2 separate regions of the Homo sapiens genome follow, and region 2 is linked to region 1. Evidence: promoter capture Hi-C in 16 types of primary human blood cells and fetal thymus (Javierre and others, 2016). All regions are on one chromosome and are shown on one strand. The core of a region is centred on a gene start or on the middle of the fragment in contact, and the rest is flanking DNA. Distances in the headings are between cores, read along the strand shown.

The links. Contacts are between HindIII fragments. The CHiCAGO score rates a contact against its expected background, and 5 or more counts as called.
Region 2: a contact is called between the fragment with the promoter of PCDHGB4 here and a fragment that was not itself captured in region 1, in 1 of 17 cell types (endothelial precursors). The highest score is 6.1, in endothelial precursors.

The regions. Positions count from the first base shown.
Region 1 is chr5:141,083,538-141,090,647 of GRCh38, reverse strand. It overlaps PCDHB@. Among named protein-coding and RNA genes, the nearest start is that of PCDHB2, 7.5 kb to the left of the region's middle. The HindIII fragment of the contact is 515 bases long and covers 4,248-4,762 here.
Region 2 is chr5:141,385,373-141,392,427 of GRCh38, reverse strand. PCDHGB4 (protocadherin gamma subfamily B, 4) reads right to left here and starts at 4,730. Exons shown (of 4, transcript NM_003736.4): 1 at 2,147-4,730. The coding sequence starts at 4,543. The region is part of intron 1 of PCDHGA1 (protocadherin gamma subfamily A, 1); the gene reads right to left. All of the region lies in intron 1 of PCDHGA2 (protocadherin gamma subfamily A, 2), which reads right to left. All of the region lies in intron 1 of PCDHGA3 (protocadherin gamma subfamily A, 3), which reads right to left. It also overlaps PCDHGB1, PCDHGA4, PCDHGB2, PCDHGA5, PCDHGB3 and PCDHGA6, and 2 more genes. The HindIII fragment of the contact is 3,088 bases long and covers 1,931-5,018 here.

The DNA of each region.
Region 1 (7,110 bases), core at 3,256-5,755:
ATAAGTTTCCCCATAATCTATCAAGACATACATTTCATGAAGCTCAAGCAAACAAGATTTCAAAATAAAGGTCGGCTACACGTGGTGGCTCACACCTGTAATCCCAGCACTTTGGGAGTCCAAGATGGGTGGATTGCTTGAGTCCAGGAGTTTTGAAGACCAGCCTGCAATGTGGCAAAGCCCCATGTCTACCAAAAAAAAAAAAAAAAAATCAGCCAGGTGTGGTGGCTCACGCCCATAGTCCCAGCTACATAGGGGGCTGGGGTGTTAGCGTCACTTGTGCCCTGGAGGCAGAGGTTGCAGTAAGCCGAGATCACACCACTGCACTCCAGCTTGGGAGACAGAGCGACACCCTGTCTCAAACAACAACAACAACAACAAACAAACAAGCAAATGAAACAAGAAATAAATATAACTCAAAAAGGGGAAATGGTGTTGTTTATTCTCTTCCCACAGTACAAATAAGCAAGAAAAGGTTTTTAAAATGATACCTGCACAAGAATCTTGCCCAATTTTGTTTAAGGAGAACCATCAGAGTCTATTAGGACAATCTGTCCCCTTGAAAATAAAAATCTTGACCAGGACTGCAGATAAAGCTAGATAGACAGATATAGATGGAAATAGAGATGAGAGAGACAGAGGTATGACCTCTTCCAAAAATCTCAGACTTTTTTTTATGATTAAAATAGGTTAAAACTTAAATCAGGTTTAGGTAATCTGGTAGATGATTGAATTTTCACTAAGATCACTATTGAAATTTTACTTTAAAAGAAAATATGGACTGGGTGCTGTGGCTTATGCCTGTAATCCCAGCACTTTGGGAGGCCAAGGCAGGTGGATCACGAGGTCAGGAGATCGAGACCATCCTAGCTAACACGGTGAAACCCTGTCTCTACTAAAAATACAAAAAATTAGCTGGGCATGGTGGCAGGCGCCTGGAGTCCCAGCTACTCGGGAGGCTGAGGCAGGAGAATGGCGTGAACCCGGGAGGCAGAGCTTGCAGTGAGCTGAGATGGCGCCACTGCACTCCAGCCTGGGCAACAGAGCGAGACTCCATCTCAAAAAAAAAAAAAAAGAAAAGAAAATAATATGGCTAAATACAATATCGAAAATTAGTAAATAATGAAGAAATCCAAAGGTGTAGAGAGGGCAAAGAATACGGGGTGAGGGGAAGAAACCTGAAACTCTGACTACAAAATACAAAGCATAAATAATCAATTTAGATATGCTAAAGAAATATAAGGAAATACTTGAAAATTATAACATATTTTCATATCACAGTAATTATTTGAACATCTACTGTGTAAAGAAGCAGGCCAACAAGAAAACAAAGGAATACTAAAACCATAGTATATGCTAAGTGAGGAATCTAAGTGACAGACCCCATATTCCTGAGGTCTGTCAAGATGTAGCCAGTAGAGCTGAAAGAAACAGCTGACCAGCAGCAGTTGTTGTCTGAATCTGGAATACATAGGTGGCATCTCAGTGTCCTTGACCATAACCTGAAGTCTATGATTGGCTAGATTACCATCACTCACAAACCTAGTGTGCACACTTCCCAGTGTTGGGCTAACACGCTATACAGATGGAGACTCAAGTCTTTGAGTAACTGATAGGACATGAAGACCTTCCAGACCTAGTCTCCTTCTACTGCCACCACCTTGAACATCACATAATCCGTTCTGCATTAAATATAACACAAAGGAGAATTGCCATTGCCATCAAATATTACCAACCACACCAACACCATGCTGCTAGCTCATGGTAGTAGTAGTGTCTGTTTCTCTCATACAGAACTTGACTCTTATGGGCCTTACAAACAGATTCTTTGTGTCCACTGTCATGGAGTACTGCACATCCTGGGAAACCAGAAGCAAATAAGTTACTTGGGTGTTTTTCTAAGTCTCTGTTTATGGCAGTGTGCTGCTAAAATGCACACTCTAGGGCTGTGTTTTCATACTTGATAAGTGCAGAGGCAGTTTGGTGAAAATGAAGACCTGGTTATATTGTTTCCTTTCAGCTTACAGTAACTCCAGATCTCTGGCAGTAATCATAGAATTGTACTTGTCTTTAATCTACCTCTATTGAAGGCTTTAGGGTGAAGGGAAGGTGGTATTATGAAGCCCAAATATCTATTTTTTTTTCTGTGATCTGGATCTGAAACACAGGAAACAGCAGATATGGTCTTAAAGCAGATATGGCTCCTTGGGACCTAGTTCATAAATGATGACATGATGATTAGGAGTGGACTGTCTTTTACAGCAAGAAGTTACATTTTCTAGAGTCTTTAATTATTGATGATCTCAGAATCCACACTGTAGATTAGTATAGCCTTGGAATTTACGGGTTTGAGTGATGGGTTTGCTTTTGGTACTTTTATACCAATGTAAATGCTTTATTAAAGTTTTCATTAAGTCTTCAGTAGCCCGGTAAAACCTTAAAGATAGTTTTATATTATACCTTGTATCCAAATTCCTGATAGAAAAGTGATAGCCAGGGAGGAAAAACTTTTTTTCTGGGATTACTGTACTGAACTACTATATATTACAGCTGAGTAAAATCACTGATAACCCACAACTTTGGTGAAGACCAATGCAGATTTGGATCTATGTGGGGACCCACCATCCAATATCATGATAGTTAAATTAACCTCAACCCATTTCTTTCCACTGAGAAAATTGCCCATCCTCATTCAGGATATTTTCTGCCACCATTCTCTAAGCAAACAGAAGAGAAGACATGGGAATTAGGATTCAAAATATACTTATGAATACTGCTCTGTCTACATGTTCTGCCATCTATATGGTCTCTACAAGATGCTCTCCTTGATTTTTTGCAGCATTCCTAGATCCAGTAATACACACTAGTGAATGGCTATATCTGTGAGTCCAAGGCACCTTGTAAAAATGTAACTCATTTTTCCAAGTTACCTTTCTCAAGGCAAATGAGTAACTCAAATGAGTTACATTTTTCCAAGGTGCTTTGAGACTCACAGATGGATCCAATTTCTATTTAGTACCCACTCCTGAGTCTTTTGATTTGAAAATGCAGTTTTTTAAATCTATAGAAACATGAATTACCCTCTCGCTCCCCATACCTCTCAAGTTCCCCATCCTAAGGCCCAAAATCTCTGCAAAATTAGCAATGAAGGAACCACTCTCCAGCACCTCTGGAACAGAATTCTGCAGTTCAGTATCCTGAATGGTACATGCTTAGTAAAACAGAATCACACTTTGTTTTAGACTGGGCTTTAAGTATTACATTATTCCTTCTTCTAACACCTTCCAGCAAATATGGTCCTACACAAACTCTGATCACCCTAATGTTTCTATTACTTATGCCACCAGAATCTTAGACATCCAATACAACTTTCACAGACAGGGTAATATAATATGAAACATACAGCACTGTATTTGCAATCTGCTTTAACCACCATTTGAGCCTGCAGTGCCATTATAGGACCGCCCCCCACCCCCCGTCAGTGCATTAAACTCTCTAGAAAGAAAAAAAGTATTTGAGAAAGGCAAATGAAAACACCAAACACTTTGTATTTATGTAATTATTATCCAGTGTATTGAATAATGTCTGTTTTCATTTTATCAGCAACTATCATAAATATATTAAATATCAACAAATAGGTCTTATTTGAGGCATATTCTGTTGTATCTTCTTTAATTTTCCTAAGCCATACAGGAGAGTATTAAACACTGACATAAAGAAAAAAAAGATAAGATTGTTTTGTCGGTCTGTTTTACATGACATTTAATGTACTGGATATGCTATGATATTAATTGCCAAAGAATTAATCATTTTTGATGTTTAATAAGGAAACAGTAAAAATTAACAAACACAAATTTAACATTGACATAAATAAGCTACACAGCAACTCAGTTGATTTACGTCTTAAATAACGAAAAAGACATTTATTTCTACAGTTTTTTTTCTTGTAGTTGTATATCTCCATTTGATTTCGTGGTCATCAATATCACCAAAATCATCAAATGACTATTTCAAATAAAAAGTTAAAACCATATATTAATAATAGTAATCAAGTAAATAGTTACTTAAACTAAGTAAATGGAGACCAGTCCTGCTGAAAAGTAGACTATCACAACTTGTCAGCCATCATTTACGAAATATCAAGAAAAGCAAAAGATGACTTTAAAATAAATAGCTTGACCTTCTTTGAGAAGTTACGAAGACTATCATTTTATGGATTGAAGTGGGATGAATTTCCTTGTCAAGCTTCAGAATATCTGCTAGGACAGTCTACTCAAAGTTTTAGGGGTAATTTACCTTTGAGAAAGATCAAAGGAAACTAGGCATGAGCAGAAAAAAATGCGTTCCTTTTCTGTGCTTAACAATAAAGAGGAAATACACTACTAGATTCTAAATAGACCTTTGTGAAATAGATAAAAAGATAAAAATAGCTAAGCCATCAATATCTGTTAACTGTTAATGAACAATTAGCTATGCTTCAGAAAAAAAACACGATGGAAATTAGAGCCATAAAATAACCAAAACATTCAGAACGGTGCTGTTATTCCTCTACCTTTTATCCAGAATCCAAAAGGAAGAACGCCAAGGATGATAGCTGTCTCTACCTACTGTCTTGTTTTGAGCTTCCTGGAACCTAATTTCATTGGAAATACAGTGATGTTGCGTGTAGCTCTCTTTTCTGGTTTGCATTATTAGGTTGTCAGATTATGGAATATTTTAAATATCCAATGAAAAGAAAACTCTGGTAGGAAGGATCAAAGCTTTTTCTTGTTTTGTTTTGTTTTTGTTGTTGTTGTTGTTTTATCTCAGGGTGCTGAGATTATGGTTCTTAAACAGATGAAGTCTTCCCAGAAGTGCTCCAGGATGAGGCAGATAAGTGTCAACATGACCAATTCTATGTGATTGTCATCCAATGGCATGGTCTTCCACCGTCCTTCACATGAAGAAACAATTTCTGAAACTATTTCTGCTTGTAATTGCCTGAGTATTTGCCACGTGGCACTGAAATTTCCTGGTAATTCTCTTGCAGTGGATGCTTATGATGCATGGGGTATCAGTGGTATTTAAAATGTTCTGCTAGCATTTAAAATGCTCTCCAGAGGTTGCAGAATTCAGTGAGCCTGGAGAATTCTGAGAGCCGATTCATAATTATTTACTCAGACTAAATCTTCAGCCGGTTGCTGTGAGACCTGCATCTCAAAGATTGTCATTGATTGTCATGACTTGGACTTAGGAGGTCTCAGATATCTACCATTCTTCTCTGGGAGAGTTAAACTTACCTTGGGCTGTGGTTCATCCAGCGATTTTTTTCACGCGTATGGACAAATTACTTACCCCAATATTGCACAGCACATTATTGTGAACATGGAAATTGAAAATGAGTGTGTAGTTTCCAATGATGGAAAATTTACCCAAACCTCATACATGTTCCTGGTGCACATTCTGGAACATTCAGAAGAATTTTTCAAAGGAGGAAACGGTTACACCTCAGACACAGATTTTTCTCAAAAGACAAATTTTTTTTTTTTTTAAATACAGGTAATTCTTGGAAATGCAGGGCTCCTATAGGTCCGATTTTCTACTTGAGAGCAAGGACTCTTCTGTGGGTCGATCTGAAATATTATTTGGTCTCTTTGGAAACTATCCTGCTCCAGTCTGTCCTCCCGCCGCTCCCCTTTCCGCCGCCAGCGCCAATCTCCAGAAACCCTGACCATAAAAAAGCAGTTTTCCTTTTCCTGGGCCGCCTGCGCTACACCCGGGAAGAAAATGAAAACCCACCACCTGCGTTTTCTGCCAGATTTTTTTCTCGCACAATTTCCTGTATATCCTCTGAGTGCATTGCCTTTAGTAAATGAAGTCTTCGGAAATCCTGTAAGACTTCCAAACATTTGTGTAGTCCCCATTCGTTTGAAGAAAGCTCTAAAATCTGAGCTCGCTGCGGACGTTTTCCAACTCGTATCTGTTCCCAGCACCTTTCAGATTTTGTCTTTTCTAAGATGGAGTCTGCAGGCAAATGCAGGGCTCCTCCTCCTCCTACTTTTTAGCCTGTAGTGCCACCAGGCGTCCGAACTGAAAACCTGGGCTGTACAGCGCTTTCCTGCGGAAACTGTCAAAATCTGTTCATATTCACATCTAGGGGCGGAATTCTCACCTCTTGAGTTTTAATTACTTCTCCAATATTTAGTTTACTTAATGTGAACAAAAACAATGGTTGTTTATTATCATAATATCAGCTGTGAGATTTCCTTTGAGAGGAACCGAATTGGATTTCTTTCATTTCAATCAAGCCAGTCATTTGGCCATAAATTCATTGAACTGATTAATTCTTCGCAGGTATTTTTTACACACAGATTATATTCAAGCACTGTAAAAGACATTGGGGATATAAAGTTGAGTAAAGTCTGGTGCCTACACCGCAGGAGGTTAGAATATTAAAAAGGTGACTCGGTGATTTGCATAGGCACTATCAGGTACTAAAAAGGGATATTTAAGAACAGAAGTGAGGTATCAGGAAGAGTCTCAGAGGAGGTGAGGTTTAAGCTAAGTTTAATTTTATGGTACCAACTTAAACACAAACCCATTGAAATGATTTTCTACTGCAGATGAAGTATTTCTGATTTTGCAGGAAATAAGATTTTTCTCGAATGATGTGAATGAACATCGTGGCCCATAGCGGGGTTGCAGTCTTTCAGTCAGTCAACATCACAGAGCCCTGTATGAAGTGTCAAGGGATGACAACTAAAAGACTAGGGATAGGGCCGGGCGTGGTGGCTCACGCCTGTAATCCCAGCACTTTGGGAGGCCAAGGCGGACAGATCACTTGAGGTCAGGAGTTCGAAACCAGCCTGGCCCACATGGTGAAACCCCGTCTCTACTAAAAATACAAAACAGCTGCATATGGTGGCTCATGCTTGTAGTCCCAGCTACTTGGGAGGCTGAGGAAGGAGAACTGCTTGAACCCAGGAGATGGAGGTTGCAGTGAGCCGAGATCATGCCACTACACTCCAGCCTGGCCAACACAGCAAGATTCTGTCTCAAAAAAAAAAAAAGGATAGGGATAGGCCTCTTTTTTCTCTTTGAACTTGGCTCACATCTCCAGTTTAAAGGAAA
Region 2 (7,055 bases), core at 3,481-5,980, 300 kb before region 1:
AAGAATGTGAGATGAAGGTTTTATTTAGTGTTATTAAATGATCAGATTAGATCAGAATGATCAGATTGTAGCATCGGATTAAATTACTCACATTTCTGCAATACATTTGGTCTTAAAAAAAACATGATACTTTCATTTCCCATTGTGCTCTAAGCTTTATTGTAAATGTCTCCAATATATACTAACAAATAACTAAGAACTTCAGTTGTCACCAGAAATGAATTTATCTTGAGACTAAAATAGACCTACTGGAGATGACTGACTCAGAAATTGTTTTATTTGGTTTAAACTACTTAATCATTTTACAAGCTTTCTATAGAGTTGTTGCTTTTAAATTATTCTTCTAAATGCCACTTGAATTACATGTCGATAATATTTTCAAATAAAAATTGTGGAATTTCAATAGGATAAATGCTTTTACCATTGCAGTTTTATGAGATATTACATTGTTTTGCTATTTTATTTACATTGTTTATATTTTTCTATTTGAATACTTGAAAGGTACAGATGAATATATGATAAAAAGCAAAGCTCCATCCCATCCCTTTCACCAAAGAGATGATTAAATTTAAAGCAGACTTGACTTTTACATATATTCTAAAATTAACTTTACCTACATTAACACTTTGATCTAAAAAACTGCAAAAAGTAATGACTATATAATACTTACTAAGAAGCCAAAGGATAAGTATGACTACAAAAAAGTCTGTTTCCCTTCAAGACCAGCCTGGGCAACGTAGCAGATGAACTTATTTCACCCTTCCTTTGAAGACTGGTATGATAGTTTTTTCACTGACTAAAACTTTCTTAAAACCACTCATGAAATCTGAAAACTTTATATTTTCCTGTGAATATATTTTCTTATGCATATGGAAAACTGGGTAGACAATGGAAACCATACCAGTTAAATTAGTGAAAGAAAATATTTTCTCTACTGAAAACAGAAAAATTAGCCAGGTCTGGTGGCATGAGCCTGAGTTCCAGCTAGTCAGGAGGCTGATGCAGAAGGAATGCTTGAGCCCAGGAGTTTGAGGCTGGAGGGAGCTATCATTGTGCCACTGCACTACAGCCTGAGTAACAGACAGAGACTCTGTCTCAAAAAAAAAAAAAGAAAAAAAAAAGAATCGAAAGACGTTTCCTTCTTTCAGCAATTTGTAAAGTGGCCATTAACTGAAGCAGTTGCTTAGATATACCTAGCAAAAGGCTCATATAATGTTCCTTGGTATTTTGTATATATTTTGTATGCACACCAGATTGGCAGTTTTCAAGACTATATTTCTTTCCTAGAGGTAGGAGAATGATTAGAAGACCTCTAGCTATATTAGTTTAGGGCTGCAGATAAGGCAGTTACACATTATATATTAGGGCTGTGTGTGAGAGGGACAACAGACACAAAACATTGTCTTTTCTTTGATGAAGGATATAGAATGAGCTTGAATACAGATTAATCCTGAAACTCCTATGTTACAAGTAAGGAGAATCTGCTTTTGATCTTCTAATGAGCATAGTAGACCTTTTTCTAAGTAAAAGGATCTCTCTCACACACACACACACACACACGCACACACAGCGTACACTGCATATAATCACAAGGGGTCCATGGACATAAAAATCCAGTTGACTCCTTATTCTAAGAGCTTTTGAAACAAAAGGGAAGTTAACACAGGAAACAAAACAGTGGACTACTATGGAGACCATACCAGTTAAATTAGTTAAGAAAAGTGTTGAATTTTAGCTTAAATTCTTTGGCTTTATTATTTTTATATTTATGGTATATCCAAGCTGAAAAAAGTATTCATCATATATTAGTCAACAAGAAGGAAAATGTATAGGAAAAATCTCATTCACTTTTTAGGAGAGAGCCAACAACTGTCTAACACTTTCACTTTGTGGTTAAAACCACACCCTCATTGCTTTATAAATCTAAGCTTGGCTAAAAAACAAACAAATGTTGGGCCACACAATTGCTCCTACTTTACTCCTCCTTTGTAGAATGATATGACAGCTTTTTAACTGACTACAACTTTCCTAAAATGATCCATGACATCTAAAAATTATATATTTTCCTGCAAATATGTATATTTTCTTGTGAATATGGAGAAATGGGTAGGCAATGAGCATTAAATTATACTTAAAGGAAACTCACCTGATGGGAAGTCAATTCACTGGAATTACAAAGTGGAAATAAGGCCCCAGATGAATCACCGCAAAGTATGTCTTGTCCTGAACTCAACTGCTCACTACATTTTAGGAAATTAAACTCCGTCTTTCCTGTATGTGCAACACATAGATTGTAGGAATAAGGCAAAGTCCCCTCGCTGTAGTTGGGGGGAACCACGGATTCGGATTTAACACAGAGACCAGGCTGGAAGCAGCTCCAGGAGGCGGGGCTGGAGGAGCGTCGCAGGCGCAAGGCAATGGCCAGAATCATGGCCACGAGGAAGAGCACTGAGATCAAGGCCAAGGCCACCACTAGGTAAAACTGCAGCTCAGCCTGGAGGTCAGAGGGGTCGGGGCGGTCAGTGATATCCGGCAGCACCTCCTGCAAGCTGTCGGCGAAGACCAGGTGCAACGTGGCAGTGGCCGAGAGTGGTGGCTGTCCACCGTCACGCACGGCGACCAGAAGGCGCTGGCGGACGGCGTCCCTGTCGCCTAAGGCACGCGCTGTGCGCACTTCGCCCGTGCGCAGCCCCAGGCTGAAGAGCCCGGGCTCGCTAGCCTGCAGCACGTGGTAGGACAGCCAGGCGTTGTGTCCTGAGTCTGCGTCCACCGCCACTACCTTGGTCACCAAGTAGCCAGGCTCTGCAGCGTGCGGCACCATATCGAAGAGCGCAGAGCCGTCGGGACCCAGCGCGGGGTACAGCACCCGTGGCGCATTGTCGTTGCGGTCGTCCACTAACACGCGCAGGCTCACGTTCGCGCTGAGCGCTGGCGAGCCCTGGTCGCGGGCCTGCAGTGTGAGTTCGAAGGCGCGCAGCTGCTCGTGGTCGAAGGCGCGCTGCGCGAACACCACCCCGCTCTCCGCGCTTATGGACACGTAGGATGACAGCTCCCGCTGCTCCAGGTCACTGGCCATGATGCAGTAAGAGACTTGGCCGTTGGGCCCCAAGTCCGGATCAGAAGCCCTGACTTGTGAAATAGAGGCTCCAGGCGGGTTGTTCTCGGCCACGTGGACTATATAGGAAGACTGTGAGAAAACCGGAGCGTTGTCATTTACATCACCAATGTGCAGGGTGATGCTGGAACTGGAGGAGAGGGGAGGCTTGCCCCGATCTGTTGCCGTAACGGTTATATTGTACTCTGGATTCTGCTCGCGGTCTAGAACAGCATCTGTCACTAATTTATACGTGTTTCTTGAAGAAGTTAATATTTTAAATGGAACATCACCTTCCAATTTACAAGTCACTTCTCCATTGTGTCTGGAATCCTTGTCACGGACTTTGAGCAAAGCAATATGTGTTCCCAGCTCGGCGTCCTCCATAATTAGGTTGGGTAGAGACTGGAATATCACTTCTGGGGCGTTGTCATTTTCATCTATGACTTCTACCTCCACTGTGCATTGCGCAATCATTCCTCCACCGTCCCTTGCTTCCAAAACTATGGAATATTCTTTGACTTCTTCAAAATCTAATGTATTTAAAACAGTAATTTCCCCGGTGTTAGAGTTCAGGTCAAATTGGGTGATCTGGCTAGCTTCACTGAAAGAGAAAGTAATCTCGGCATTGACACCCTCATCCTGGTCCGTGGCAGTCACCTGTAGCACCGTGGTCCCCGGGTACACGTTTTCTGAAAGGCTCACCCTGTATACGTCTTGACTGAACACTGGAGCATTATCATTGGCATCAGTCACTAGAACGTGTATCTGTGCAGTGCTGCTTAGGGGTGGAGCTCCAAAGTCCAAGGCAGTCAAAGTCAAGTGGTAGGATTTCTGCTTTTCTCTGTCCAAAGGTGTCTTCAATACCATCTCAGGGTATTTACTGCCATCTGATTTCTCTTTATTTATCAGTGAGAAATGATCACTGGGACTGAGTTGGTAATTCTGCAGTGTGTTGCTACCAATATCCGCATCATGGGCAGATCCTAATATAAATCGTGTGCCAGGCTGTGCAGACTCACTTATTTGCAGCTCAAAGGAATTTTGCGTGAATTTTGGCGTGTGGTCATTAATGTCCTCGATCTCCACATTCACGTGATAAAAGTTCAGTGGATTTTCAGCAACAGCCTCAAATTCCAGAGCACAAGCTGGCTTCTTCCCGCATATCTCCTCCCTGTCTAGCCTGCTGCTCACAAGCAACTCCCCGCTCTCTGCGCTCACGGTGAAGTAAGGCTTCTCCGAACTGACGCGCAGTTTTCGAGTCGGTAACTCCTGGACGCTGAACCCCAGGTCCGTGGCGAGGTTCCCCACTACGGAGCCCTTGGGCATTTCCTCGGGAATCCTGTAGCGGATCTGCTCACAGAGCGCCGGGCAGAACAAAGACAGCAGGAAGAGAAAGAGCACTGGCAGCCTCTCAGCCCGGCCCAGCTCCCCGGCGCCGCTCCCCATCCCTCTTGCTCTCCTCAGCTTGCTCACCAGCCTGGAGACGCCGGGTTACAAATAACCTCTGTATTGCAGATTTTTGGATCTCCGAACGGACTTTAGTTGCAGTTCCAGTTCAAGAAAAAATTCTTCTTTTTCCGAGGAGGAAGCGGTGTAAAGGCTGGCGCTGGGGAGTCTGAGCTGGGGCTGCCCTGGAAAGCGCGCTGCGGCTGCGCGAGGAGATCTGGAGCGCCAAGCTCTCCACTTTGGCCAACAGCGGCGCCCAGAGTCAGCACTAGGAAACTACAGCCTCTGCTGCTTCAAGTTAACCAGTGCAATAATTATAATTGTGTGCCTAACTGAAAGAACAAAAACTACGTGGATACGTCTGTATATTTAATGACGTCTAAAAATGTACTCTTAGGAATGCCTTCATCCCAACTTTGAGGATTTTTAGGCAAATCATGTAGATTAAGTACATAAACATTTATTGACATAAGCTTTCCCCAATCTTCAAACATGCACTATCTATATAAAGATAGCCATAACACAGACTTGGCCTAAACCGTCTCAGAGTACAGTAATTTTCCATACTTACTCATTAGAAATATACTGGATACATTTTATCTTTCTTTCATTGTTCCTAACATTTTCTCCACTTTTCTAAGTACCTCCAAGTTGATTTATTTCAACTTTTTCCGGAGAGTATCAGTAATACCAAAATTGCCTTTTAGAAGGTGCAATTTATACTTATCTTCAAATACACCCCCTTCCCAATAGTTTCAGTGATTTCATTACAGGAATATTATGTGATTCTCATTTCGATGATCACAGGCAGTAGCCTACTCCTCTCCTCATTACACAATTATTTTACTGGTTATGAAATACAACATTCATCTTCAAAGTTATCAGGGGGATAATACATAGCCTCAAAACACAAAGTCACTGAGATCTGCTGCACTGAAGCACTGCTTCCTACCTCTGCACTTATTTTACATTCCTTGGTGACCTCTGAATTGAAGGAAACAATCCCTGGAAAGTTTGATTGCAATAGCTCACTGAGTTTAGTGATTATGTCTCTCCATTGCTTAAAAACAATTTTATGCATCTAATAAATTTTGGTCAGGAGATTTTCTTTTACAAAATACCTTATAACCGTAGTTCTGCCATAGGATCTTCCCTCAGTAACATTGTTGGTGTCAGCAACATTGTCTTCTACCCCAAGTGATTGTACATCTGAAATGTGAACACTGCAGAACTTGTAAAATGTATCCAGCCTGGGTGACAGAGCGAGACTCCATGTCAAAAAAAAAAAATGTATCCCCCACACTATTGTACAGAGTCTATCATGTGCAAAATACTACCAAATACAACACTAGTCTAAAAAGAGTCTTTTTTTGAAGAGACAGAGTCTTGTTATATTATCTAGGTGGGCCTCCAATTCTTGGGTTCAAGCTGTCCTCTTGCCTCAGCCTCCCATGCAGGTGGGCTACAGCTTGCAACACCATACCTGGCTAAAAGTGTGTTTTTAATTAATACTCAAAGGTCTCTGGAATCAAGATTACCTTGTCATCCACCCCTTCTGGATGACAATCACTTGATATACTGAGCTTTACTAAAATGTTATACAAAAGAATATGGAAGTAGTTAATCCCAGATTGGGTTATTTCCAACTGAATTTTTCAGTAGACCTAATAAATAAAATCAACTACTGGTCTAGGATCTGTGTACATAAGATGGTCTAAGGTTTGAGTACGTGAGACAGTTGAAACAAAGCCAGTATCCCCAATCTCCCACTTTGATAGCCCACAGACACACTTCATCTGGCTGTACCACTAAAACAACATACTGGAATTCTCTGTTAAAACATGTAATTGCCTATGTCACAAATGCCAATTACAACACTTAAAATGACATTTTATTTGACATATTTTATTGGTTTTGTCCGATGGCCTTTAGTGTGGCATTAGACTTGATGTCTGTCTTTGATATAGATCTTAGTGAAGTGTGATACACACACATTTCATTCTTTAGGCATAAATCCAACCTTCTACTACCACCCCATTAATAAATGATTATACTGTAAATAGGTCAAGAAGCAATCAAGATTTTTTAGGACCACCAAGCTGAGGTACATGGAGGCAGAATCAGCCACAGAAAAAAATCTTCACATGGAAGAAATCTTTCAGAACCTTTTACATATTTGAATGCTAAAGAGAATCCTGAGAAGACAGCTGAGGTGTGTTTTATTCCTGCTAACCTTGTGCAATATGAAAGACTCGATTCATTCCAATGTATAAAATATATGAGTTAAGAAAGTAGGTTGGAACATAGATTGGAAAGTAGGTGGAAATTATAAAATGTGATAGTCCACATATTCATAATCTTGTCCATAGGCTTTCACTAAAGAAATACTATATCCTATGTGTTCTATATTAAAGTGTCACCACTGAAGGAAACTGGTAAACTCATTTTTACCTCTATAAAGTTTTTTAAATCCCTATTTTCAAAACATTTGTTTTGCAAAATAATAGAGAAA